Linked DNA regions of Homo sapiens: regions 1, 2, 3, 5, 6 and 7 are each linked to region 4. Evidence: promoter capture Hi-C in 16 types of primary human blood cells and fetal thymus (Javierre and others, 2016). All regions are on one chromosome and are shown on one strand. Each heading gives the region's core, a stretch centred on a gene start or on the middle of the fragment in contact. The rest is flanking DNA. Distances are from core to core; before and after follow the strand shown.

Region 1 (4,045 bases), core at 664-3,163, 2.4 Mb after region 4:
TGCCATATTCACCTGACCTCTTGCCAACAAACTACCACTTCTTTAGGCATCTCAGCAACGTTTTGCAGGGAAATTGCTTCCACAACTAGCAGGACACAGAAAATGCTTTCCAAGAGTTCGTCAAATTTGGAAGCATGGATTTTTATGCTACAGGAGTAAACAAACTTATTTCTCATTGGCAAAAATGTGTTGATTGTAATGGTTCCTATTTTAATTAATAAAGATTTGTGTGAACCTAGTTATAATGACTTAAAATTCATGGTCCCAAACAGCAATTACTTTTGCACCAAACTAAAAATATAAGTTAAAATGGAAGAGTCTAGGAGCAAACCAAGAAAAGATCACCTACTTCATCATCTCTGGTCAAAAACAAACCAAAAAACTTAACAGCTATCACTTAAGTTTGCTTCCTAGCAATTATTTAGCTTCCAGTCTAGATTACAGGATATATAAAACTTTCTTTCTTTCTTTCTTAACTATGACACTGGCACCAATGAGAGTCCTGTGACTGACTTTCACATTTCCACCATTACTCAATTACTGGTACCATACCACCTCTAATCCCCTAAATCAAACTGCAATTCAACAATAAAGGGCGTACAGAGATGACTTTGTCCTGAAGGAAAATGAATATCCTTGTACCCTCTATATAGCTAACTTCCAAATGTAAGAGAACTATGGGGTAACCTTTTGTTTCTATTCCTATCAAGATGAGCCTTTAAGAGAGGGACTTTTATTAAGCTCTTGACCAAGAAGAATACACTTGATTCAGAGTTTCTGATGCTCTTAATCAGAACTATATGTATTGTCTCAATATTAAATAAAGTCAAATGTTTCCATACAAATGATTTCTCCTTTGACTTCACCAGTCCACACTTGAAAAAAGACTTCCTTCCTGTTTACCTCCCTTGTACTTGTTGACATTCAGACCTGGGTTTGTGTCTCAATATTTGGCAACTTTTGCTGCCATATCATAAGCATGAAACAGCCACCCTCACCTGATGCTTGGCCATCTCCAATCCCTCCAAAATCACTGTCTTAAAGTCCTCCTCCTTGTCCTGTGGAAGGAAAGAGGAGAACTCACAGCCTTTGTTCCAGTGAAAAGTATGCTTGGCCATGAAGACCTTGTTTAAGGTGATTTGGATGGGAAGATGCCTTTCAATCAAAATAGTTTTCTTATTCTGTGGGACAAATTTTGGGCAAAAGACTGTCATATTTATTATTTAGATAAAGGAGGGGGGTCTTATAAAAATTCTCATTACTAATGAAAGGCAGGCATAACAGAAAAGGACATGTGCCTGGGGTCATATTTGCTTCTGGATTTGTCATGATTACTTGCCCAAACTCTGAGATATCAAATTGAAAGTACCAAAGTCCTACCCTGAACTCAGGACCCAGCATACATCCTCATCTCTGTCCTTTTATTAAGCCCCTACAGAAGCAACTAGGAATTTAAGTCAAGTTTTCTCATGTAAATTCCTTCCAGCAAAATCTCTTTAATCACTTTCTTCATTCCATTTTTATAGTTATGGAATTCAGTTTAAGAGCTGCTGCCTGATTAGGAGGACTCCAGAAGACTGGAAAATTTCTGAGCACTCAAAGCACACACTGCATACTAGATCTCACCAGACAACCTAGATCACTCCCAAATTGTACAATTTGATTTTGAAATTTGTTGAATGTAAAAGAAAATTTGACAAAAGGTTAATAACAAAGGCCCAATGGTGAGCATACCAGTTTCATTGCTGGTAGGTTCTTGGGCAAAGATCTGTAATAAATTAGCATGATGCATACTGAAAGATAAAAAGTATATAAGACAATATTTTACAAATTTTATTTTCCTACACTTTTTAATGGTATATGTTTTAAGTAAATTCCCACTTTTCCCCTTAAATAATTTCTCTAAGAAGATGCTTTATATTAAAGAGTCATAAAGCCAGTTTAACTCTGAGCACTGTTTTAAAAACTGCAGGTTGTGGGGGTCTTGCAATCTGTACTCAGCATCATCACTGTGAACTACAAAAAGGAAAATATCTCATGTTAAGGGCAAGAACTGTTTTGTGAAACTTTAGATTCGGTTATATAGCTGTACTGGATCAGGATAAGGAACACATTTCTGAATGTAGGTTATAATCAGAAAGTGAAAAATACTTAGAAAATGAATTTTAGCATATATATTTTATTTCATATAGATAAACAGAATGAATGCTAATGATTATTTCCTTTATTCTGATCGAGGTCTAGCTCATTCAATTTCAATGAAATCTGACTCATATTTTACAAATTTAAAATGTATAATCTTCTTACCCATTGATTAGTTCTGTTGAAACAACTCTGACAGGTTCTAAAAATCCCTTTTGTACTGTATTTTTTTCAATCAACTCATACTTTTGTTTGTCATCATGGCATTAAGATGAACATTATATTACATTCTCAAGTTTTTGACACGAAGAGTGTTCAGGACTACAGTCTTAAATACTCACATGTATGGTTCCAAGGTTTTTATTTTCTTTTTTGAGGGGAAAACATTTTAAGGTAGATGTTATTAATGTACAAAAGCCTTCCTTTTTCTTCTTTAAAAAAATGAATAACCGCATATTCCTTTAAAATACATACGATATGTTTTCTAATGTCTGGAAATATGAGGCTTATGGACATTAACTCTCAAAACTGGGGACTTGTTTTCAAAATAGCTCAACTTGATAACGTTCTCAGTTTCCCAGGAAGTATTTAATAAATACCTCACTAATGCAACATGTAGTGATGTAAAACAAAACAATCACAAAAGAATGCGATACCTTTGCTCTTTTCCGAAGAAGTTTTGCTAGTCGTACCACGTAAGGTTTAAATTCTCGTTGATGTATACCCTGCCTTCTGACTTCCAAACCTGAATCATCTGAGGCTTCTGGAATAAAGGCCCATCGGTACCTATGTATAGAATAATGACATCAGCATCAGTAAGACAGACTTTGTGCCATCTAAGATTAGGCCACATAATGTAGTAGAAAGATCATGACCCCACTGCTTATAAAAATTCAAATGCCAGATGTGCCACTCGTAGCCTTGTCACTTTGGGTATGTTTCTTAACCTCTCTGAGCCTTCATCAGTAAATAAAGATACTATTAACTACCTCATAAGGTTGTAAGGAATAAATATGAAAACTTGTAAAGTACTCATCATTACTTTTTTCATGAGTCCAAAGCAAGTACTCAACAAATGTTTCTTTTCTCATTAGCGAACAGGCATAAGGTTCTTAAAAGGAAGATGTTTTCATTTAGCTTATCTCTTTGTACTGCAACATAACAGTCTGACAAAGACTTGATTTTTCAACATATAACTGGCCAAATGTTCCCTAGTTGCATAGTAAAGGAGTAAAAAATTGAACGAATTTAAGAAAACTAAGGGCTTTTTTTGCACTTCTCTTGTATTTTTGTTTGTAATTTTGTCTTTCATAAGTAAGTAAAAGTAATATCCGACCATGGGAAAAATTCAAACAGTATAAATGGGCATACCAAAGAAAGGCAGTCTCCCCTCCCCGCATAGGATTCATCAATGTTGTCAGCTTCGTAAGTCCGTCCAGAGAGTTTATGCCCAAAAGAGTATATATTCACACAACCAACCCTCTCTTTTAAAAAAACATGATTGCTGCCTGTTTTAATTATACATGTAGGATATATATTTTTGATATAATTTATTTGATATAAATTACATATCTTGGAGACAATTCTGCATCATATAAAACTTCATTCTTTTTAACAGCAACATAGTAGTACACCACAGCCAATGTCCTAGATTGTCCAACTTCTTGCACTTACAAAGTACCACAGTGGATACTCTTAAGTAATGCTTATTTATTTTTGTGCACATCTGAGAATATAGAGACAGGATAAATCCTTGGATGTAGCAGAATTATAGGCTTAAAGATATATATTTTAAATTTTGGTAAATATAACCTCTGAACAATTGGACAATATCAGTGTATACTTCCAACAAGAATAAGAATGCTTCTGTTACTAAAAGTAAAAGGAAAGCAACTTTCAGATC
Region 2 (3,550 bases), core at 156-2,655, 2.5 Mb after region 4:
TACCTCGACCTGCTGATTTTACATTTTTTAAGGGTTGTTTTTTAAAAAATAAAAAGTATAATATGTATTCTACTTTGAGACCATACATGGCTCATAAAGCCTAAAATATTTACTATCTGGTCTTTCACAGAAATAAAGTTGCTGACTCTTGTTTTAGAGGATCATTATTTCTTAAACACCATTTCTTGAAATTGAACTTTTGACTCAGGTTTGAAACTGTCATCCCTGCAAAAAACTCAGATGCTTAATATTCTGTATTGCTAACTAAGTGCAGATCCATATGCTTTGAAAAGGAACTAGCCAGAAAGTAGCTATAAGATTTTCTAAGGCAGATTTCTAAGGCCTAACCAAGATCCACACCTGAGCACATGGTCTACCCTCTGTACTCAGATGACACTCAAGCAAATGGCTTGCTGTCTGCACTTAGTTGACACCATGTGGATGACCTGCTGTCTGCACTTAAGAGGGAGCCATGGTACTTTGTACCTCTGTTGCATTGCTAAGCGTATTGCAGTTTCAGAGGAGGGTCATTTCCATAGATGCCTTTATCCCCTCTATACTTTTGATGCCTGGGGGCTTTTGACAGGGACTGTGTTTTACTCTTTATTGCCTATACTGAGTAATTTGTGTTTGCTCTGAATTGGATTAGTAAGTCCTTTCACACCTGATATTCATACATCACTGTATCGTTTTCTTCATTAATTCTTTTTATTCTTAAAATTGACAGGTTTTTGTCTTGTATCATTGTTTCACTGAATCTTGGTCTCTTTATTAAAATCTTGTATATGAAATAACAGTACTTTGCTCTGATTTACTATAAAACATTATTTTAGTGCTCTTCTCAGAAGGAAGAACCAAAAATCTGTCCCAGGACTTGCATATTATGGTGATGGTGAAGGGCACTCTGATCAGATCTAAATCTAGTGTAGGTTGCTTTCCTTTATGATCTGCTTGCTGCTGTTTTTCTGGGGCAGTGACTTTAGAGCTCCTATTGAAGAGGAAGAAAGAGATCCTTGGCCATTTTTGTTTCTTTCATCATGTGGTTTTCATTGTGAGAAATAATTTGTTTGGGTTTTGTTTTTAATTACCAGAGAACCGAAAGAAGGAGGTATGCCCATGAATATTTCCATAATGCCATCTTCACTCCAGATGAAAACCCCTGAAGGCTGCACAGAAATCCAGCTTCCAGCAGAGGTCAGGCTTGTACCTTCCTCTTGCCGTGGGCTACAGTTTGTTGTTGGAGATGGACTGCACCTGCGACTGCAGACGCAAGCAAAATTAGGCACAAGTGAGTAATATTAGCACTTCTGCTGCTGTATTTACCTTTTTGTTATAAACCAAAGGTGATTTTTCCTTTGATAAGTTGAACTTTTCCCAGGTGAAGGGGTTGAGAAGCTCTAGGGTCTTTGTCAGCTCTGCCAGTTATTGGCTGTATGCAATTGAACATGTTACTTAACCTTTCTGAGGCTTCTTCCCTCCCTCCCTTCCTTCTTTCTTTTCCACCCACAGCAAAATTGAGCAGAAAGTATAGAGATTTCCCATTTACCCACTGCCTTGTTTCTTTAATTGTAAAATTTTCTGGCTCACAGATGGGAAGATTAAATCAGATGGCAGTTGTATAAGACCTGATTGATTTTAAAGCATTACATGGAAATTTATTCATTCAACAAATATTTTGGTTTGTGCTATGTGCTAGGCATCAATCTAGGTTCTGGGGATACAGAGTGAACAAGGTAGGGGAGGTGTCTGCTCTCATGGAGCTTACATTCTAATTGGTGGGAGCAGATAATGAGCAAACAATTTAAATATTAAGAAAAGTGTTATGATAATATAAAACAGAATAATGGGATAGGGAGTGACTAGGGTTGGCTGAAGGATGATCAGTGAAGGCCACTCTGAGGAGGTAATGTTTGACCTGAGTCCTGAATAAGGAAATCCTATCCATGTGGGGACTGTTCCAAATAGAGAAAACAGTACACAAAAGGTCCTACAGTTGAGTTTGATACTTAATTTGATTTTAACTTTTACTATGCCTGTTATATTTACAACATTTTGTAACTGGTATAATGATTCGGTAAGGCAGTGGAAAATTTGCTTTTTCTAAGACCTCAGGGTTATTTATTGTATAAAATTATTGGTTCATTACATCTATTACAATGTACGTAATATATGCTTTGGGGGATTAAAATTATGTCAAAGGGGGAAATAGGCTGTAAAAGACTTATGTGATGTTTATTATCAGAGAAAGATTGTAATTCTTTCAGCTGCACACTGACACTTCGCTGCTGCCTCATCTGTAATAAACCTTTCATCTGCGCTGTGTGGATCCTGGAGATGGGGTCAGGAGGAGTGTTTGGAAGAGCCATTTAGGAGATGTTGAGTATTCCCCTGAGTCTGTGCTCTTGGCTTTTGTGAGGAAAGAGAAGATAGAGAGGGTTTCATTTCTTTTTTACTGGAGAGCAATTTTTGCTCAAGTCCTGGGTTAGTGAATAACTAGTTTGAGTTGGGCAGGGTTAGTTTTAGGAACAAAGGGTAGGGAAAAGAGATGTCATGGCACTTAAATGTTGTAGGATAAATACTAGGAATGACTGTTGGAATAACCATAGCAAGAAGGTTAGGGTCACCGAGCTGGGAAGTAGACTCCCTGATTGCACCTAATAATGGGCAGAGAAAGTGTTGTTTCAGGGAAGAGGCCATGGGAGGCTGGATGTTGTGTTGTCATCACCTTCTCCTTCACAACAGTTACCTCTTTCACAAGAGTAACCACAGCAGGAATTTTGTGTTGGGTTCTGAGATTTGGGAAAGGCAAGCATGAAAGCCACAGTGGAGTGTTTTCTGGGATTGTGATTTTAGAGATGGAGGAATAGAGACCACCAGGGACATAGTATTGGGTTTTTGCCCATCCATATTCTGTATTCTGTAACTGAATATACAAATATCAAAACTGGAATTATTTTTAAAAATTTAAATCTGCAAACATTGTTTAAACTATAGGACAAAATAAATTGACTGCTATGTGCTGATTTGCATATTGTTTGTGTTCACTGGTCTCCTATTTCTTTACACTTTTAATATATTTTGCTCAAATATCTGAAAAGGAAAATTATCAAAGTCCTGTTCCATAGTGCATGAAAGAGTATGCAAAACAGATTCCTCAGCACTTAATTGCCTGAGTGCTTTCCATATAATAGATGGTGTATAAATATTTGTGGAATGAATAAATATGAATAGATATGTACTGGTGTGAACTTGAATCAAACTGTTTTGTAGGAAGTGACTTGAAAGTTTTAGCCTTCAGTTTGTGTTTCAGGGTTTTTTAAAAAGATGACTTTTCAATGCTAAGAACACCCTTTTAAGGACAACTATAGTAAACATCATACTGGTATACTGCTATTTTGAGTGTCAAACTGTGACCCTCGGTGTGGAACTAGCTACAGTAGGATCTATTAGAGCACACGCATTAGATTGATCCCCCGCAGCAACGCTCTCCCAGGATTCCTCTATATCAGAAACTGAATTTTAAACCCGACCCAGTGCATCATGCTGGGTG
Region 3 (3,560 bases), core at 31-2,530, 2.4 Mb after region 4:
ATTTGCATATGATAGAAATTTGCATTTCTATCAAGTTTGCAGGCTTTGTTCCCAGTGCTTGTCTGGGGATCCCTTTTTGAGAATCACAGATCTACAGGGGAGCATAGTAAGTATTATTAGATACCTTATCTGAATTAAATACACTATGGAAAGCAAATGTAACTCTGCTTATACAGTTGTTAGCAATCAGTGTTTTCCACTCAGTGCAGAATAGGAGGAAGACTTTTCTTCAGATTTTAGTTGTAGTAAGAGGTGTTCTGGATTTATCTGCATTATAGACCCTAAATTATTTGCTTAGGCCAAACCTGACTTGCAGATATGTTTTGTTTGGCTGGCTGCATTTGTGTGTTTGTCTGTGTGCCACTGTTTAAAAATTCCGTGACTTCTCTTATATATTGGAATCTCTAGCATCTCTTTACCAAAATCAGAAAATGTTCACACATGGCATTAGTCCACTACAGTCAGATAGATGCTGCTCCCCTAAAATAGGACATGCATTCTGGAACTCTACAGACTTCATCCAGTTGCCTCATTCATTCATGTTATTATGCTTTACTTAGTAAGCATTTAAAATGTCAGTGTAGTCAACCAATTTGAGCTCCTTTTCATTGAATTGCTTGTTTTGACATTTACTTGACAGTTCAGTTCTGCCACTTATTTATCCATTTCTTAAATACTGAGCTCTTACTCTCTATGCTCTAGGCTTTGGGACTACAGTATGAACAAAACCATAGTCCTTGCTTTCCTGAAGCTTGCATCATGTCCTTTCATCAATCTTATGATCCCATTCCTGACAAAAGCCTTTTACTTCTTAGTTGTCTCATGTTGAATTTGTCACTCTGCTGCTGTCATGGCTAAGGAATAGCCAAATTTTCTAATAAATTTGATGTGACAATTGCTGAGATTTCAGCAACTTTATGTAAATTTCACAGGCCAGTTATCTCTCAAAGTTATAATTCTTTGCTCTTAATTATCAGTGTTTCTTTTTATTGGTGGTATGAACAAATAAAAATCATTTCTGTTAGAATTAAAGCACATACATCATCTAGTGCTGATTATTTTTTCTATGTAAAGGAGATCACGGTCCTAGGTAAATTACATTCAGAAATACATGTAGCTTTCAAAAAACCTTTATGGGACACCTGTCTAGCCAAACCAACCTGCTTATAAAGTGGAATTTTATGGTAGTATTATAGCAAATATCAGCATAGATTTTGAATGCTCCTTTTTTCACTTTGCAGTGAAAGAATTTGACCTGTAAAAACCACTAATAAACTATGTACTATTTAAAGATTATACACTATTTAAGATTAAGACATTGATTTTTAGGTGGATAATTTTAAGAGAAAATTCTAAAACTCTTTATAATAAATTCTTAGACTGAAATGCATGTTAAATTATCCTGTGTGCTAGGAATGGAAATTAAGTCCAATGAAAGATGCTGTTCTTTTGATGGAGATGCAGACAGAATTGTTTATTACTACCATGATGCAGATGGCCACTTTCATCTCATAGATGGAGACAAGATAGCAACGTTAATTAGCAGTTTCCTTAAAGAGCTCCTGGTGGAGGTATGGTGGGGGGATTGGCTACCCTCTAAAACAAGACTTAGTAGTGAAATAGTTCCATATTTTACAATCATTTGTCAGAAGGGCACAATTTATGACAAATTCTTTACATTAGTGGGCAGAAAATTAAAAAAAGAGCAGTGGTAATACCCAGTCATTTGAACATTTGAGGCATTGGCTTTGGAACCTGAAGGTACTCTTTTCCTCCTTATACTGGCTGAGTTTTGTGATTTGAAGCTTTAGGAAGTTTTGCTTCCATCATAATTGAAACTTTGATGACAGTTCTGTGGTCACTCCATAAAAGCCCTAAATTCTAATAGGAAATCTCATCATCTGATATATTAACTGATTATGATAAGCTTAGTAATGTGAGATTTGTTTCATTTTGCTATTTTAGAAATAAATCTCAGGCTAGCTTTAAGTACACAATGTAATTGGAAATTATTATAATCTGGAAACAGCATACTTTAAGAATTTAATAGATTTTTTTTTTTTTTTTTTTTGAGACAGTGTTGCTCTGTTGCCCAGGCTGGAGTGCAGGGGCGTGATCTCGGCTCATTGCAACCTCTGCCTCCCTGGGCTCAAGCAATTCTTCTGCCTCAGCCTCCCAAGTAGCTGGGATTACAGATGCATGCCACCACACCTGGCTAATTTTTGTACTTTTAGTAGAGATGGGGTTTCACCATGTTGGCCAGGCTGGTCTCGAACTTTTGACCTCAGGTGATCCACCCACCTTGGCCTCCCAGAGTGCTGGGATTACAGGCGTGAGCCACCGTGCCTGGCCAGATACTTTTATTTAAAAAATTAAAGAGGTGAAGATCAGGAGATACAGGCTTCTTAAAAGAGGAATTCTCATAGAATTGTTTTAAATAGTGTTCAAATGTATTTTAGGCTTTTTTCCTGGCATACATGTAAATTTTCAGTCAGACATTTTTGGCATAAACTAAGGCACAACTGAACTGGCTGATAATTTTGGTAGCCTTTAGAACTCTCATTATATTTGTTTTTGTAGACCATACTTTTGATGGCAAGTTAAGTATCATTGTTTTTGTCTAGATTGGAGAAAGTTTGAATATTGGTGTTGTACAAACTGCATATGCAAATGGAAGTTCAACACGGTATCTTGAAGAAGTTATGAAGGTATTGAACCATTTTTGTTTTCTGGTAGTTTCTTAATTAAGATCATGTTTCTGTGAGAAAGATACTGCCCTCATAAAAGTGATTATGTTGTAGTGCATGAAGCTGAGCTGCTGTTCATGTAAAGGTAAAGAGAAATAAATAAGAAAAAATTTAGTTGTCCTTGATGAATAAAGGAAAACTTCTTTCCTTCCTTTTCTTGGAGTTTTCCTTTAGAAAACTTGGAATTCTTTCTCTGTGCCTTTGTAATGAATGTAAGTCTTTCTAAAGGCCTAATAAGCCAGTTTTATAGCTCAGGAATACTTTTCTTTAAGGGCCTAGAGTCACCAATTTCAAATATAAACATCAAGGAAGATAGCTCACCTATCTCCCAGTCTCAGGAGAGTTTAACTTAGGTGTTTGCGTCCAATTTGTAACTATCTACCTGTCACAGAGGTATGAAAAGTTTTATTACTCCTTTAGAGAAGGGCAGTTAACACAGGTGGCCATCCCTATTACCAAGTAAGTTTAGGATAAACTATGTGTGTGACAAATGGTGGTTTCAAGTTTTCCTATTTGAGGACTAGTGTTAAAGAAAAAATAATTCATGACACTTGTTAAAATGGTAAGGCAGACTTGATTCAGGACTGTTGTGATAGGTACAGGGACTAATGTGATGGAGTTTTGCAGTGGTAGGAGAAAGATTGGGCTCAACTCCAAATATAGTAAGGAAAAGTAGGGCTTTATAGCCAAGGAGCAGGGTGTGTGGGGGGTGGTCAGTGGATGAAAAATTACTGAGAGGAAACATGAGGGTAAGTGGGTGGTATTTTGGCTAAACTGATCTAACAGGACTTTTGCTGAAGGTAGGCCAGGGCG
Region 4 (4,037 bases), core at 386-2,885:
TGTAAAGCACTCAAGTCCATAGGAGGCACTTGATACATGTAGATCCACTCAACATACACCTATTTTAGTATTAACAGATAAAGATACTTAAAAACTGCCAAAGTGAAATTAATAAATGTTTAAATATGTACCTAGAAATATTAAAAAATGGTAAGCTTTCCAATGATGTTACACTGTAGTCTTTTAAATGGTTTAGTCACAAACAGAAAAGTGTATTTGTGATGTTTAGACAATAATAGCTAATCGTGAGGATCAGTGAAATTGTTTACTTTTATACACCACTGTGGAGTTGGTACCACCATTCTACAAAGCAGTTTGACTGTATCAAGAATGTTTGTTTTTACCCTTTGACCCAGTAATTGTATTAAAGTTGATTCTAAATAATTAGAAATGTGCATAGGTTTATCATCAAGGATGGTAATATCAATGGACTTTAGTGGTTAGCAATAATGGAACAGGATGGTACATTCTGATAAAGGATAATAATGCATCATTAAAGATCCATGTTTTTGTAATACGGGAAAATATTCATGAAACTACATACATCATTAAAAAACATTTGTTTCCCCACTTTGAAGGATAAGATCCTAGGAAAGAGAGATGACAGGCACAGGCTCTGTCTTTAGAACGTGTTCAAATTCCGGCTTTGTTAGTTTTATGATCCTAAGTTCCTTTCTGTCTCAGTAATTTGCCTGTATAATGATTGAAACTATAGTACTGTACCTACACCATGGGGTGAATGCATGAAGGTCAAATGAAAGTGCTTAGTGTCTGTACCGCCTAAGTAAATTTTCGCGATAATAGTCTTCCTGCATCTCTCACTGTAGCGGACAATACAGAAAAAAAAATTTAGAAATGTGATGAATTAGTAAAGGGAAAACCCCATGAGACTCTATAAGAGGGATTTTACCTAATCTGCCAACCTGCCTCTTCCAAGCACTCGGATTTTGGTTGGGCTCCCGGAGCCGGCGTGAATTGAGCTCTACCCTTGCCCGTGAGCGCGCAAAAGAGATTTTGTTGGTGGGGTGGCGGCCTGATGAGTTGTAGTCTTTATTCTAGGGCTGTTTTACTCGCCACCCCCCCAGCCCCCAACACACCCCTTTTAAAATACCGACTCAAAGGCGTCCTCCTATCCCCCTCTCCCTTAGGCGTCACGCAAAGCTCGGACCTGCTCCCACCCGGAGCCGAGTGTACGGTGAGGCGCGGAGCGTTGCGGGGTCGGGGAAGCGCTACCACCCGCTCCATCCCTCTGCGGGTTCGTGTCACGAAGACTACAGTTCCCAGCGGGCTCCACGAGCTCCGGTTGCCCCTCAGGCAGCGCCCGGCGGCTACGGGGGTGCTGTAGTTTCTTCCGGGCTCCCTACAACCTTCTTCCCTCTCCTCCGCAATACAGGCAGTTACTGGGTGCTGGGGCTGTCCTTTGATTTCCGGAAATGGCCGGTCGCCAGTGTTGTCAGAGTTTCCACGGAAGACTGCGCGCTACTCCGGCCAGGAGGGCGGAGCGGCGAGACGCTAGAGGCTTTGCGCTGGGTGACGACTTCGGGCACGTTCTACGGCCGTTCCTCTGGTCGGCTGGGGACCGCGGCCGCGCACGCGCGGCGGGGGGCGTGGGGCTGGGCCCAGCCGGACGCGACCTCAGCCTGCGGCGGCTAACTGCCGGTAGGCGTCTGTGTGCGCCGCCAAGTCGGTGGGGCGGGGACGCGAGGTGTGGATGGGGGGTCGCCTTGACCTCTGCCTCAGCCAGTAGCGCAGTCTCGGCCTCGCCGTTACGGAGATGGTGCCCTGGGTGCGGACGATGGGGCAGAAGCTGAAGCAGCGGCTGCGACTGGACGTGGGACGCGAGATCTGCCGCCAGTACCCGCTGTTCTGCTTCCTGCTGCTCTGTCTCAGCGCCGCCTCCCTGCTTCTTAACAGGTAACGCCGCAGCGCGGAGCCTGGGCGGCGGCTTTTCTCCGAAGGTGCAGACGCCCGGCCCGTGCTGCTTAACCGTGCGGAGGCCGCGTAGCTGCGGGACTGGGGACCAGTGGGGAGAGCGAGCTCCGCAGAGGAGCGGCCTCGGGGAGCACGGCGGAGCGTCGAGGCCGGAAGCACAGGCCGGTGGGGTGGGGTTGATTGCCTCCTTTCCCGAGGCTTCGTCTCCTGAGCTACCTTTTTCTCATCCATTTCTCAAAACGAGTTCTTCATCTTCGTTGCTTTTCAAAAGTGAAATCCGTGTGTCGGCTCAAATTGAGACTGTACACAGGCAGTCAAGTCAGCTGACGGAGGAGTGTTCAAGGTCCAGTTCGTAGCCGCAATTTTAGGCAGAATCCGCACACCTGCAGCGCGTTCTTCCATCTCCCCACCTCCCACCCCCTCAGCTTGCAGCTGAAGCTTTTCCCGCAGTATTGTTGAATAAAACAGACGATCATAAAGATTTGTTGGACAGAAATCAGAAAGCAAAGTGGTACCCGTCCCAACATCCTTAGAATTTTTTATTTTTGAGACGGAGTCTCGCTCTGTCACCCAGGCTGGAGTGCAGTGGTGCGGTCTCGGCTCACCGCAAGCTCCTCCTCCCGGGTTCACGCCATTCTCCTGCCTCAGCCTCCCGAGTAGCTGGGGCTACAGGCGCCCGCCACCACGCCACCACGCTACCACGCTAATTTTTTTGTATTTTTTTTTTTTTTTTTTAGTAGAGACGGGGTTTCACCGTTTTAGCCAGGATGGTCTCGATCTCCTGACCTCGTGAGCCGCCTGCCTCGGCCTCCCGAAGTGCTGGGATTACAGGCGTGAGCCACCGCACCCGGCCACATCCCTATAATATTCTTAAGAGGACTTGATGCCACCCTCCCCAAAAAAACCTGAAATATTCCGAAAGGTTAAAATTGATAAATTCAATTGACATTTTGAAATCAGAAGATTCTGCCCCCGAAATAAACTTGTTTTACTTCATTTTACTATTTCAAGAAATTGTTGCGATGCAATAGGTAGTAGAGGAGACTTTTCCATTAAAATTAACACCAGATTTGCTTTTGGTGGAAAGAAATCTGAGATAGTTCTCATTGACAGCATCCGCAAGCTGTTTTCTCTGATGTTTTGAACAGGCAACCATTCTTACTCTTTATCTTAAGGTAGTTGATTCCCAAGGATAGCAACAGGGAGGAATGCGCAAGGAATTTGGTAACTTCATTTTTCTCTGGTGTAACCATTATTTGTGACTATGTTGAAGTTAGATTTCTTCCCTAAAAGTGGCCTTGCTTTCTTGTTGATTCTTGGTTTAAATATTATTGAGCTTAAATAGTAGTTGATGTTTTACTGAGAAGTGTGCTCTGTGATGGTGAGATGTTTGAACTGTAGGAGTGTGGGAGAAGTGGGATCCTTAACAGAGGGAACACTAATTATTATTTGCTTTCTGTCATCTGGAAGGTATTCCAAGCTAGACTAACAGGTTTAGTATGAAAGAAATGTAAGCTTCATATGATTTTTATTTTTATTTTTATTTTTGAGACGGAGTCTCACTCTCTTGCCCAGGCTGGAGTGCAGTGATGCGGTCTCGGCTCACTGCAACAGCCACCTTCCAGGTTCAAGTGATTCTCATGCCTCAGCCTGCAGAATAGCTGGGACTACAGGTGGGCACCACCATGCCCGGCTACTTTTTTTACATTTTTAATAGAGACGGGGGTTTCACCATGTTGGCCAGGCTGGTCTCGAACTCCTGATCTCAAGTGATCCACCTACCTCAGCCTCCCAAAGTGCTGGGATTACAGGCGTGAGCGACTGCACGCAGCCCATATGATTAACTTTTGTCCATGGATTCTTACCTACCTCTTTTGGGAACTGGGTCAGTTTAGGTTTCTAAGGTAGGAGAGCCATCTAGTAGGAGCAGGTTAAACTAGATTTCTGAGGTCATCTACTTATGGTCATAACATTTAGTGTTGTGTGTTATTAAAAAGTCATAGGATGCCATCTGATCTGTATACCATCTAACCTGTACCCTGTATTTCTTTTATGCAGAGAAGGTAGGAAATACAGGTAAATGTTACCTGAGTGGTTGGGTTTAT
Region 5 (3,931 bases), core at 847-3,346, 2.4 Mb after region 4:
GCCAGTACATACCAGCTATATCCCAGCCTGGCCTAGGACCAAATACATTAGCAACAACATACGCCCCACTTGATATATATAACAATAGCAGAAAAGCCTGACTGGAGCCACCAAGATACAGTGTCACCAAATTGCCACAAACAGATATGAATGAAAGACCCCTAAAGATGCAGAACTCTGTAATTATATCATAAATGTTTCCAAAATCTTTTTTGAGGCTCCCATTTGCTAAGATAACAATGCACTGCAGAAAGGAAAAACTATTAGGCCTTTTGGAGGTCATCTGGGAACAGCTCTGAACAAATATAAATTTCTCGGGTCTCTGAAACCACTGTGGTCTATAGAACAAAGTATATGCTATAGGAATAAACCCATCCCCCACTTATTTTTCCAGTAAAGAGTTATAATTTATTTCTTCATCCTCTGTGGCAATATACCCACATTGGATCCCTGATCCATAAAAAGAGGGTTATTCTCTCAGGAAGTATGAAGAGATTTGCAGAGATGAGTCCCACCATCAAAAGCTTTGAAAGCAGCAGGAGTGTGATTCTTATCACATCTTGCTTTAGCATGATCTTTGGCATATGTAGGAGGAGACAGATGGGTCTCTAAGAATGACTTCACAGGCTGGGCTCAGTGGCTCACACCCGTAATCCCAGCACTTTGGGAGGCTGAGATGGGCAGATCACTTGAGGCCAGGATTCGAGACCAGCCTGGCCAACATGGCGAAAAACCATCTCTACTAAAAATACAAAAATTAGCCAGGCGTGGTGGCATACACCTGTAATCCCATCTACTTGGGAGGCTGAGGCATGAGAATCACTTGAATCCGGGAGGCAGAGTTTGCTTTGAGCTGAAATTGGGCCACTGCACTCCACCCTGAGTGACAGAGCGAGAGAGCAAGACTCCGTCTCAAAAAAATAGAATGGCTGCACATATTCCGAAACTTAAGCAGATGGTGATTCCAACTGCAGCTGCTGTCATATAAGTTCTTTTTTCTTGGAGCAAATCAGAAAGTAGCTGGCTACTGATTTGGTCAATGCTTTTTTGTTTTTCCTTTATTCCAGTAAGTAAAGACCACTTGAAGCATTTTCTTTATCTCAGTAAGCAGCAATGTAGATTGTCTTTTTCCAACATTACATTAACTTTCTATGTCAGAATATCAGTCTCGATATCAGACCTTTGATCAGCTTACCACTATACAGGGCAGCATGCTGTATGCCTCCAGGTGATATTCTGATTGGACTTGGAGAATGGAGTCATGTTTCCTGGATGCCTAGTAAGATGTGTCATCCCAGAGGGTGAACGATAAATCCCATGAAAGCACAGAGCCTGCAGCCAAGTTTTGTAGAAGTCCAGTGTCTGGTACATGCTGGGATTTCCCCTTCATTGTGAGGAACAAATTGTGTACTTTGTTCCTTCTATAACTAAGGAGAACTCCCAGGGTTTGGTGGGTGATATGGTTTGGCTGTGCCCCTATCCAGATCTCACCTTGAATAGTAATAATCCCCATGTGTCAAGGACAGGACCAGGTGGAGATAATTGAATCATGGGGGTGGTTTACCCCATACTTCTCGTGGTAGTGAATAAGTGTCACGAGATCTGGTGGCTTCATAAAGGGGAGTTCCCCTACACAAGATCTCTTGCCTGCCCCTATGTAACATATCCCTATGCTCTTCCTTCGTCTTCTGCTGTGATTGTGAGGCCTCCCTAGCCATGTGGAACTGTGAGTCCATTAAACCTCTTTCCTTTATAAACTACCCAGTCTCGGGTATGTCTTTATTAGCAGCATAAGAATGAGCTAATACAGTGGGCTTACTTAAATTCTGTGTACCCTGCTCAAATTCATTCGGGGGTTGACCCAAATGCATCTAGTTTTGACTGGGATCAGAAAGAGAGGTCTCTCTAGCTGGTCCAGGCTATGGTGAAATTAGTTCCACCATGTGGACCTTATGAGGGAAAGCCAATGGGCTCAGAGTTTCTGTGGCAAATCAGGATTATGTATAAAACCAGGAAGTGTGAGCAACACTGTGCCCTCTTCAGACAATAACTATTCTTTTGACTTACTACTGGGCTACTTGAGATAAAAGCAAGTGAAAAAAACCTGTTCAAAAGGGTTCCATGAAGGCTGCAGACAGACACCATCAGAACCTTCTCAGGTTCTGAGAGGGGATGGATGGCATGTAAGGAGTTATATGTGAACGCTCAAGTTCACAGGCAATGTATGTTTGATTTAATAAGGAATGTTTTAGAGGTCCCTGTGTTGTGGTCTGCCAACTCATCTGGCCTACTCAATTCACTATGCAGGTGTCCTCAGCTCTTAGCCTAACACATAATAGACCAGTAAGGAATGAAAAGCAAAGAACATACTTGACGATATGCTTCATTTACTTCAGCAAACTTTAAAAAGACACTGTAACTTTTATAAATGAGCACATTTTCCAAATAACCATTTAAGAATATAATAAACAGAATATCCAGATTCTTAAGTTACAAGCAATAGAGACTGATTCTGATTTCCGACAACAAAAGGGAAGATGCTGGGTCATTCAAAGGAAATGCCAAACAGCTGAGCATTCAGTAGGTCAGAAATGAGGGTGGCACTAGAGGTTTAAGCAGCAAGAGCTCACAGCCATCTCTCCAGGAGGCTGCCAGAGGACAACTTGATTCCTATCACTTTCTCTTCCCAAATCACACAGGGAAGGGGCAGTTTCCCAAAATAAGCTGTGTGTGTAGGGGGAGGGGGTTGGGGAATGACGGACTTTTATTATGTGCTCATATCAGGCTGTGCAAACAACCAGCAGACTCCTATACATACAAAGTTGAGTTTTGAATTATACATGTACTTTTTTTTTCTATAAAACCTACACGTCCCCATAATACTATCTGCATTAGTTTTCCTGATAGGAAAAAAAGTATTGCAGAATGCTCAAATTAGACTTATTTATAAAAAAGTAGGTTCTGAAAAATCTCAGAAATAGCTCCAGAAGCAGTAGAGTTCATAACCTAGAATTTATTGCCTTTTCTTTACACCCATCTTTCTGTAGCTACTTTTGCTCATGTAATCAGGAAAAACACCTCTATAAGGTAGGTTGATGGCACATATTGATTCATTTGGATGGAGTTACATCTGTTGAAGGCCTAAAACTTGTAAATGCGAATTATACTTATTGATAGCTTTGTGGAGACTGTGGGGGAAAAAGATTCCTATACTTTGTTGTTTTTAGTGCTGGCAAACATTAAGAAGTGATTCCTTGGCAATGTAAGTCCTATTTCTTCCCTTTGCATATAGGCAAAGTGTCAGGCTCCAGCCTGAGTTCCAGCACAACCAAGGCTAGGATGGAAACATGAATGGCAAGCTGGAGGACCTGGCGGGGCAGGCCTACAGCGAGCCATGGGTTGAAGATCTGAGTTGTGCCCTGAGAGGACACTCATTGTGACCTAAGAAGAAAGAGGCAGTACAAAGTGGACCCAGTTCTAACACCTCCTTGGGATAGGGCCTCCTGCTCCATCATGTCCTCTCTGTAGCCCAAGGACACGTCTGCATCCACGGCACAGAGGGTAAAACCAGATGGTAGTTTCATCAGAAGTTCTGTAGGCTCCCCAGCACAAGCAGCACTGTCTGACATCTAACAGGATGTGTTCCTAAATCCCAGCACCAAGCTTTGGCATCTTGAGAGGACCCAGTAGGAGAATGGAATGCCTCCCGGGAAAGGGCAGCAGTAGCTGACCACAGAAACACGGAAAGCTGCAGAGGCTGCTCAAGACATCTCTTAGCACATGAGACTCGCAGAAATACTTGGGGAGGGATGGAGACCTGGTAATGAAAAGGCTTGGCAAGAGCTACTTAAATAGCGGTTTTTAATCATTAAAATAAACTCTCATTTTGAAAAGCCTGGTGAAGCCTGTGGAGCTTGGAATTTTCAGAGGA
Region 6 (3,859 bases), core at 32-2,531, 2.5 Mb after region 4:
AATAGACCCATTCCTTCAATCTTATTCACACTTCTGTCCCAGCTAAGCAAAACCTAGGCAATTGTCCACTGTTCAAGACTTGCTCCCTCCCATCTCAGTGCCTTTACACATGCTATTAATTTTGTGGATAGAATTTAATTTTCTATTAAATTATACTCAAACTCAAAATGCTATGTCTCTGCATGATACCTAGTGATTCAACCCCTTTGACCTAATTTTTAAATCAGTATCTTTTTCAATATTCAGAATAAGCTTGTCCAACCCACAGCCCAGAACAGTTTTGAATGTGGCCCAAGAAATTCGTAAACTTTCTTAAAACATTAAGAGATTTATGCATGGACCTTTTTAGCTTATCAGCTATAGTTAAGTGTTAGTGTATTTTATGTGTGGCCTGAGACAATTCTTCTTCCAATGTGGCCCAGGGAGGCCAAAAGTTTGGACACCCCTGATTTAGAAACATGGCTTACATGACAGTATAAAATGTAAAAAATGTACATATGCTTCATGTTTCTAGAAGTTTAAAGTCCTTTTTATTTTTTTGAGACAAGGTCTCATTCTATCACCCAGTCTGGAATGCAGTGGCACAATCATGGCTCACTGACGTCTCTAACTCCTGGGCTCAAGCAATCCTCTTGCCTTAGCCTCCTGAGTAGCCAGGATTACAGGTGGGTGCCAACATGCCTAGCTAATTAAAAAAAAAAAATTTTTTTTTGTAGACAGGGTCTTACTTTCTTGCCCAGGTTGGTCTTGAACTTGTGGCCTCAAACGATCCTCCTGCCCTGGCCTCCCAAAGTGCTGGGATTACAGGTATGAGCCACTGTGCCCAGCCTATAGTCCTTTTTAAATTGTTTTTAAAGCATATAACATTTACCATCTTTTTTTTAAGGGGTCTTGCTATGTTGCCCAGGCTGGTTTTGAACAACTGGGCTCAAGCAATCCTCTGGCCTTGGCCTTCCAAAGTGTTGGGATTACAGGAATGAGCCACTGAGCCTGGCCAAAATTTACCATCTTAACCACTGAGTGTACAGTTCAGTAGTGTTAAGTACATTCACATTATTGTGCAACCAATCTCCAGAACTTTTCATCTTGCAAACTGCAACTCTATACCCATTAAACAACAATTCTATTTTCTGCTTTTATGAATTTGACTACTTTAGATACCTCATGTAAGGGGAACCATATTGTATGGGTCTTTTTATTATAACTGGCTTATTTCACTCAGCATAATGTCCTCAAGATTCATCCATGTTATAGCATGTGTCAGAATTTCCTTTTTTAAGGCTTAGTAATATTTCATTCTATGTAGATACTGTATTTTGCTTATCCATTAATCCATAGATGCACACATAGGTTGTTTCTACCTCTTGATTATCACGAGTAGTGCTGCTATCAACATGGGTGTGCAAATTCCTCTTCCAGATCCTGCTTTCAACTCTTTTGGATATATCCAAAAGCGGGATTGCTGCATTTAGAGAGTAATTTTTTAAACTTTTTTTGAGGAATGGCCATACTGTGTTCCACAGGGGCTGAACCATTTTACATCTCTACCAACAGTGCCCAAGAAGTTTCTAATTTCCCTACATCCTTGCCAAAACTATTTTTTTTTTAATAGTAGCCATCATAATGGGTGTAAGGTTAGGTATCTCTTTGTGGTTTTGATTTGTATTTATCTAATGATTAGTGATCTTCAACATTTTTTTTTCTTTTGAGATGGAGTCTGCTCTGCCTCCAGGCGGGAGTGCAGTGGTGCGATCTTGGCTCAACCTCCCAGGTCCAAGCGATTCCCTTGCCTCAGCCTCCTGAATAGCTGGGACTACAGGTGTGCACCACCACGCCCAGCTAATTTTTTGTATTTTAGTAGAGACCGGGTTTCACCATGTTGGCCAGGATGGTCTCAATCTCCTGACCTCATCATCCACCCACCTCGGCCTCCCAAAGTGCTGGGATTACAGGCCTGAGCCACCACACCCGGCCTCAATATCTTTTCATATGTTTGCTGGCCATTTATATATCATCTTTGGAAAAATGTCTATTTAAGTCCTTGGCCCATTTTAAAATTCAGTTACTTTGTTGTTATTGAACTGTAAGAGTAGCTCTTTCTTTATATATTCTGGGTATTAGCCTCTTATCAAACACATGATTTATGAATATTTTCTCCCTTTCCATAGTTTGCTTTTTCACTCTCTTGTACTCTCTGATGCACAGAAAGTTTTAAGATTAATACAATCCTATTTTTTATTTTTGCTTTTATTGTCTGTGCTTTTGCTGTCATATCCAAGAAACTGCCAAACTCAATGTCATAAAGCTTTTCTCCTATGTTTTCTTCTAGGAGCTTTATAGTTTTAGGTCTTATCTTTAGGTCTTTAATCCATTTTGTGTTAATCTTTGTGTATGGTATAAGATATACAACTTCATTTTTTCACATAGGGATATCAGTTTTTCCCAACACTATCTGGTGAAGAGGCTATCCTTTCCTGACTGAGTCGTCTTGGCACCCTTGTCAAACACTGTTGGACCGTATAAACTAGTGTTTATTTCGGGGCTCTCCATTCAATTTCATTGATCTATATGTCTGTTTTGGCCAGTACCATACTATTTTGATTACTATAGCTTTGCAATAATTTTTAAATGCATTTTTTGAGAGCCACCCTTTTATTCCTTCTGTTTCAAACACTAAATCCTAACTTGACCTGACAAGTACCTACTTATCCTTCAGGTCTCAGATTTTATCCCTTTTGGGAAGTCTTCCAGGACCATTCCACCATTCCCCTAACACTCACATATACACCTCCTTCCTGTGAACTCCCATGACATGCTATACTTCCTCTATCATAGAACTTACCTTGCTTTATTGTAATTGAACTGTGACTCCAGGGGTGGTAATCGCTATAACAGAGAGACCTCATCTGTCATTTTAGCTCTCAAATCCCCAGCTCCTAGAAAAGTGCCTGACCCACGGTAAACAGTCAATAAACATTATAAAAATTGAATGACAATAGAATATTCTCAGTTGGTAAAAATAATGAATTAAGTGTATACATTGATTTTTAAAGTGCTAACATATATTAACTAAAAGAAGCAAGGCACAGAATAGTGTTTATAATATGCTATCATATTAAAAGAGGGAAAATATATATTAATTTGCATATGTACAATACATATCTGAAAGAACACACAACGAAACTAAACATTACTTCCTAGGAGACAGGTGGTAACTGGATGGATGAGGGCCCAGGAAAAGGAGTCTTTTCATCATACAGATATTCCTTGACTTATGGCTTATATCCACACAAACTCATCCTAAGTTGAAAATACCGTAAGTTGAAATGTATTCAACATTTCATTTAGCATTGCTGGGCTCAAGCAATCCTCTGGCCTTGGCCTTCCAAAGTGTTGGGATTATGGAAATGAGCCACTGAGCCTGGCCAAAATTTACTATCTTAACCACTGAGTGTATAGTTCAGTAGTGTTAAGTACATTCACGTTGATTCACTATAATTTACATCATTACTTAGCCTAGCCTACCTTAAATGTGCTCAGAACACCTATATTAGCCTATAGTTAGGCAAAAATCACCCAATATAAAGCGTGTTTTATAATAAAGTGTTGAATAGCTCATGTAATTTATTAAATACTATACTGGAAGGAGAAATCAAAATGGTTGTATGGATACTAGAAGTCGAGTTTTTATTGGATGTGTATCATTTTTGCACGAGTGTAAAGTTGAAAAGTCATAAAGTCAAACTACCATGATTTGGGGACTATCTGTATACTTATACTTTTAAAATCATGTGAATTATGCCCCATTTATGGTAATAAAGGGTGAATGAATAATGTCCCTAAAGAACATGAAATAGCA
Region 7 (3,832 bases), core at 1,267-3,766, 2.2 Mb before region 4:
CCACCTCAGCCTCTCAAAGTGCTGGGATTACAGGCATGAACCACAGTGCCTGGCCAGAAAGGCATTTTTTTAAATCAAATGTCAGCAAACATTTATGCTAGGCTGTATTCTAAGGGATTTAGGTATAATATCACATTTAGACCTGTAGCAGTCCTATAATGTAGGGTCTATGATCATCCCCATTTTATAGATGTGAAGGCTGAAGAATGAGGCAGTGAGCACACTCACCTAAGAGTCAGTCTGAATGAACCCAGTCTTGCCCTGGAGCCTGTGCTGTATACCACATTGGACGTCAGGGTATCTGGCCATGTGCAGAGCTGCAAGACCCACCAAATATTAGCTACATATTATCAGCCATCTAGTCAACCCACTGAAGGTCTAGAGAGGCACACTGAGGCCCAGAGAAATGAATGACCTTACCTGGATTATATAGATTGTTCCCAGAAAAATTGGGCTAGAAGCAGGATCCCTGGTTGCCAGCCCAATGTGGTGCCTTCCCCCATGACACAGGACCTTGCCTCTGGTCTGTTTATCATATGACATCTGCAGGTTGGTTTAGCGGTAGTTAATGAAATTAGTCAGTGTTTCTCACAAATGGATCTCAGAGTGTCCATCCCACCCAGACAATTATGTTGAATATGCTCAGGAGAAGGAGAAGGAGGAGAAGAAGGAGGAGAATGAGGAGAAGGATGAGGAGAAGGAGGAGGAGGAGGAGGAGGAGAAAAGATATTGAAGGCTGTTTCCCTCTCAGTAAGGTTCAGTTTTTTTCTCCACAAGTTTTAAAAAAATGGGAATCTCTTCTAGAATGTTAACATCTGCTAGATGTTATTAAATACCAATTTTCTAGCAACTGAACCATTGGACATTCTTGCCTAAGTGAAACAAACCCTACTTGTGCTTCTCCACGGGTACAGAGCTTTAATTAAAGGCATGTGATTAAATATTTTCCAGTTAACTTAGAAAAGAGAGCCACAAGGTAAACAGACAGTGGATTAACTGAATTTTTTTTTAACTCTTGATCTTTCTGCATTTATTTTCAAGTTCATTTGTCATTTAATTTGTTGTCACAAATATTTTAGATTTTCCAGATTTAACATTAAATTTGAAATTAAACATAACATAATCATGAATTCCAGATTTCTTAAAACTGGAATACCGGATACCTAACTAGCAATTTGCAGTTTTATACTCTGCCCTCCACCCTTTCAGGCAACAGACAAGGCACTAACATGTTTCAGAAATTTGTTAACAGAGAAAACAGTAATTTGTGCTGTCATCTCCTAGGTGAAACAAACACCCCTGTGTCTTCTGTTCTCTCTAGGAAGGATGGAGGTGACCTCCTCCCTTAGAAGCCTCCTCCATACTGAGAGGAGGGAGAGTTTTCCCAGGATGTACCTCTTTCAGACATTTTTAAAAGCTTAGTTCTTCCTTCCAAATTTGGTGGGCTATTTAATTGAGACATGTAAAATGTGAATGTGGGTTGGGTGCAATGGCTTTTGCCTATAATCCCAACAATTTGAGAGGCTGACGTGGGAGGATTATTTGAGCCCAGGAGTTTGAGACCAGCCTGGGCAACATGGCAAAACCTCAGCCCTACAAAAAATACAAAAATTAGCCGAGCATGGTGGCACGTGCCTGTAGTCCCACCTACCAGGGAGGCTGAGGTGGGAGAATCACCTGAGCCAGGAGGTAGAGGCTGCAGTGAGCCATGATCATGTCAATGTACTCCAGCCTGTGTAAAAGAGTGAGAACCTGTCTCAAAAGAAAAGAAAAAAAAAATTGAATGCATTCAGGACAAATAAATGCCATGAAATCCAGATTCTCTGACTCTTCCTTCAGAACCTATTTGCTCTCCTGCTGAAGAGGTCCCCCAGGATTTGATCACAGCCTGGTGTCCCAGTATCAGAGAACCCAACCAACATTAGCATTATAACTATCAGAGCAATGACCATTGTTTGAGGGCCCACTGTGAGCTTACTGTGTTATCTGATTCAGCATGAGTGGATCACCTTCTTAGAAATAGGACTGTCGGCCAGGATGTGGTGGCTTATGCCTGTAATCCCAGCACTTTGGGAGGCTGAAGCAGGTGGATCACGAGGTCAGGTGTTTGAGATCAGCCTGACCAACATGGTGAAACCCAGTCTCTACTAAAAATACAAAAATTAGCCAGGCATGGTGGCGTGCACCTGTAATCCCAGCTACTCGTGAGGCTGAGGCAGGAGAATCGCTTGAACCCAGGAGGAGGAGGTTGCAGTGAGCCGAGATTGCACCACTGCACTCCAGTCTGGGCAACAGAGCAAGACTCTGTCTCAAAAAAAAAAAAAAAGGAAAGAAATAGGATTATCCAGGCTGAGGGTGGTGGCTCACACCTGTAACCCCAGCACTTTGGGAGGCCGAGGCAGGTGGATCACTTGAGGCCAGGAGTTCAAGACCAGCCTGGTCAATTTGGTGAAACCCTGTCTCTACTAAAAATACAAAAATTAGCCTAGCATGGTAGCAGGTGCCTGTAATCCCACCTACTCGGGAGGCTGAGGCATGAGAATCACTTGAACCCAGAAGGCAGAGGCTGCAGTTTGAGCTGAGATCGCACCACTGTACTCCAGCCTGGGTGACAGAGCAATACTCTGTCTCAAAAAATAAAATAAAAAAAGAAAAAAAGAAATAGGATCGTCCATGGCCGGGCACAGTGGCTCATGCCTGTAATCCCAGCACTTTGGGAGGCCGAAGTGGGTGGATCACCTGAGGTCGGAAGTTCAAGACCAGCCTGACTAACATGGAGAAACCCTGTCTCTACTAAAAATACAACTTAGCTGGGTGTGGTGCTGCACGCCTGTGATCCCAGCTACTCGGGAGGCTGAGGCAGAAGAATCGCTTGAACCCGGGAGATGGAGTTTGCAGTGAGCCGAGATCGTGCCATTGCACTGTAGCCTGGGCAACAAGAGCGAAACTCTGTCTTGAAAAAAAAGAAAGAAAGAAAGGAAGGAAGGAAAGAAAGAAAGAGAAAAGAAGAGAAAGAAATAGGATTGTTCAGTAAAATCAGGCATTTTTGTCCTGTCCAGGCAGTTCTGCCTTTACAGGTCAGAGAAAGAAAGGAGAAGAGTTGGTTTACATCCACTTTCTCTTTTTGAGAAGAAAGTCACCCTCTAAACTGCCACATAGGCTATTTTGCTGGGAGCTCTTCCATTGTCTTTTTAAAATTTTAATGTGTAGTAATCTTGACTCTTGAATGAGGGACCATCAGAAAGAACTTCCTAGTCAAGTTGTAAGGGGGCGGAGGTGTAGACCTTGTTCCAGGTTCTGCTCATTTCTTCCCCTGCCCCTCCCAGACCTGTCACAGATTCAGGGCTGGTCAAATCTTGTCCCAAAACCAAAGAAATCTGCCCCAGAAGACTTCTGAGATTGTCACAAGATTTCTAGTTATCAGAACCAAGGCCATCCAGGCCTCCAACTGAATCTAGATAAAAACCATCTGAATTGAGAACATTCTAGAAACAGAGATCAAGGACAGGATGATACTTTGTAACTATGGGAGGGAATATGGCTTCTCATTTTTCAAGAGAAAATAAAAACAAGATTTCTTGACGTTCTTTCCACTGAATGCTAAAGAAAGCTTCATTGTTAGCTGTCTCCTCTCCCAAACAATAAGGAAGCAAACAAAACAGAATAGAACACCCCTGTACTTCAGAGGTCTTTTTTCTCAGTGCTGCATGTTTTATGCATTATGAACTGAGGTTATCTTTTTCTTGTTAGGGTTTACATAGAACCGAGATAGCCATTAGATATTCTGATTATTAAAGAAGTTAGAAATATTTTTTTAACTCTAAAGGGGCTT

The links. The method cuts DNA at HindIII sites, captures the fragments that hold promoters and counts their contacts. A CHiCAGO score of 5 or more calls a contact.
Region 1: a contact is called between a fragment that was not itself captured here and the fragment with the promoter of SNX14 in region 4, in 7 of 17 cell types (total CD4 T cells, total CD8 T cells, naive CD8 T cells and 4 more). The highest score is 16.7, in total CD4 T cells.
Region 2: a fragment that was not itself captured here is called in contact with the fragment with the promoter of SNX14 in region 4 in 6 of 17 cell types (activated CD4 T cells, non-activated CD4 T cells, total CD4 T cells and 3 more); the score reaches 12.4 in activated CD4 T cells.
Region 3: a fragment that was not itself captured here is called in contact with the fragment with the promoter of SNX14 in region 4 in 6 of 17 cell types (non-activated CD4 T cells, activated CD4 T cells, monocytes and 3 more); the score reaches 10.2 in non-activated CD4 T cells.
Region 5: a fragment that was not itself captured here is called in contact with the fragment with the promoter of SNX14 in region 4 in 4 of 17 cell types (total B cells, naive CD8 T cells, naive CD4 T cells and 1 more); the score reaches 6.1 in total B cells.
Region 6: a contact is called between a fragment that was not itself captured here and the fragment with the promoter of SNX14 in region 4, in 6 of 17 cell types (total B cells, non-activated CD4 T cells, total CD8 T cells and 3 more). The highest score is 15.9, in total B cells.
Region 7: a contact is called between a fragment that was not itself captured here and the fragment with the promoter of SNX14 in region 4, in 5 of 17 cell types (M0 macrophages, non-activated CD4 T cells, M2 macrophages and 2 more). The highest score is 15.7, in M0 macrophages.

What each region holds. Positions count from the first base shown.
Region 1 is chr6:83,161,673-83,165,717 of GRCh38, reverse strand. It overlaps DOP1A (DOP1 leucine zipper like protein A), which reads right to left. Exons shown (of 39, transcript NM_015018.4): 38 at 2,799-2,928. PGM3 (phosphoglucomutase 3) reads left to right here. Exons shown (of 13, transcript NM_015599.3): 13 at 1-845. Among named protein-coding and RNA genes, the nearest start is that of PGM3, 30 kb to the left of the region's middle. The HindIII fragment of the contact is 5,842 bases long and covers 1-4,045 here.
Region 2 is chr6:83,055,564-83,059,113 of GRCh38, reverse strand. UBE3D (ubiquitin protein ligase E3D) reads left to right here. Exons shown (of 10, transcript NM_198920.3): 2 at 1,092-1,288. Among named protein-coding and RNA genes, the nearest start is that of UBE3D, 8.5 kb to the left of the region's middle. The HindIII fragment of the contact is 7,857 bases long and covers 1-3,550 here.
Region 3 is chr6:83,177,821-83,181,380 of GRCh38, reverse strand. PGM3 (phosphoglucomutase 3) reads left to right here. Exons shown (of 13, transcript NM_015599.3): 7 at 1,414-1,571; 8 at 2,625-2,708. Among named protein-coding and RNA genes, the nearest start is that of PGM3, 14 kb to the left of the region's middle. The HindIII fragment of the contact is 1,054 bases long and covers 754-1,807 here.
Region 4 is chr6:85,591,456-85,595,492 of GRCh38, reverse strand. It overlaps SNX14 (sorting nexin 14), which reads left to right and starts at 1,635. Exons shown (of 29, transcript NM_153816.6): 1 at 1,635-1,914. The coding sequence starts at 1,775. RefSeq lists enhancers at 1,343-1,462, 1,773-1,942, 1,391-1,974, 1,975-2,558, 2,559-3,144 and a silencer at 1,493-1,712. The HindIII fragment of the contact is 2,215 bases long and covers 158-2,372 here.
Region 5 is chr6:83,197,372-83,201,302 of GRCh38, reverse strand. It overlaps RWDD2A (RWD domain containing 2A), which reads right to left. Exons shown (of 3, transcript NM_033411.5): 3 at 2,368-3,931. Among named protein-coding and RNA genes, the nearest start is that of RWDD2A, 6.0 kb to the right of the region's middle. The HindIII fragment of the contact is 3,139 bases long and covers 527-3,665 here.
Region 6 is chr6:83,074,357-83,078,215 of GRCh38, reverse strand. The region is part of intron 1 of DOP1A (DOP1 leucine zipper like protein A); the gene reads right to left. Among named protein-coding and RNA genes, the nearest start is that of DOP1A, 8.6 kb to the right of the region's middle. The HindIII fragment of the contact is 2,053 bases long and covers 255-2,307 here.
Region 7 is chr6:87,743,213-87,747,044 of GRCh38, reverse strand. No RefSeq gene overlaps it. Among named protein-coding and RNA genes, the nearest start is that of AKIRIN2, 43 kb to the right of the region's middle. The HindIII fragment of the contact is 2,193 bases long and covers 1,420-3,612 here.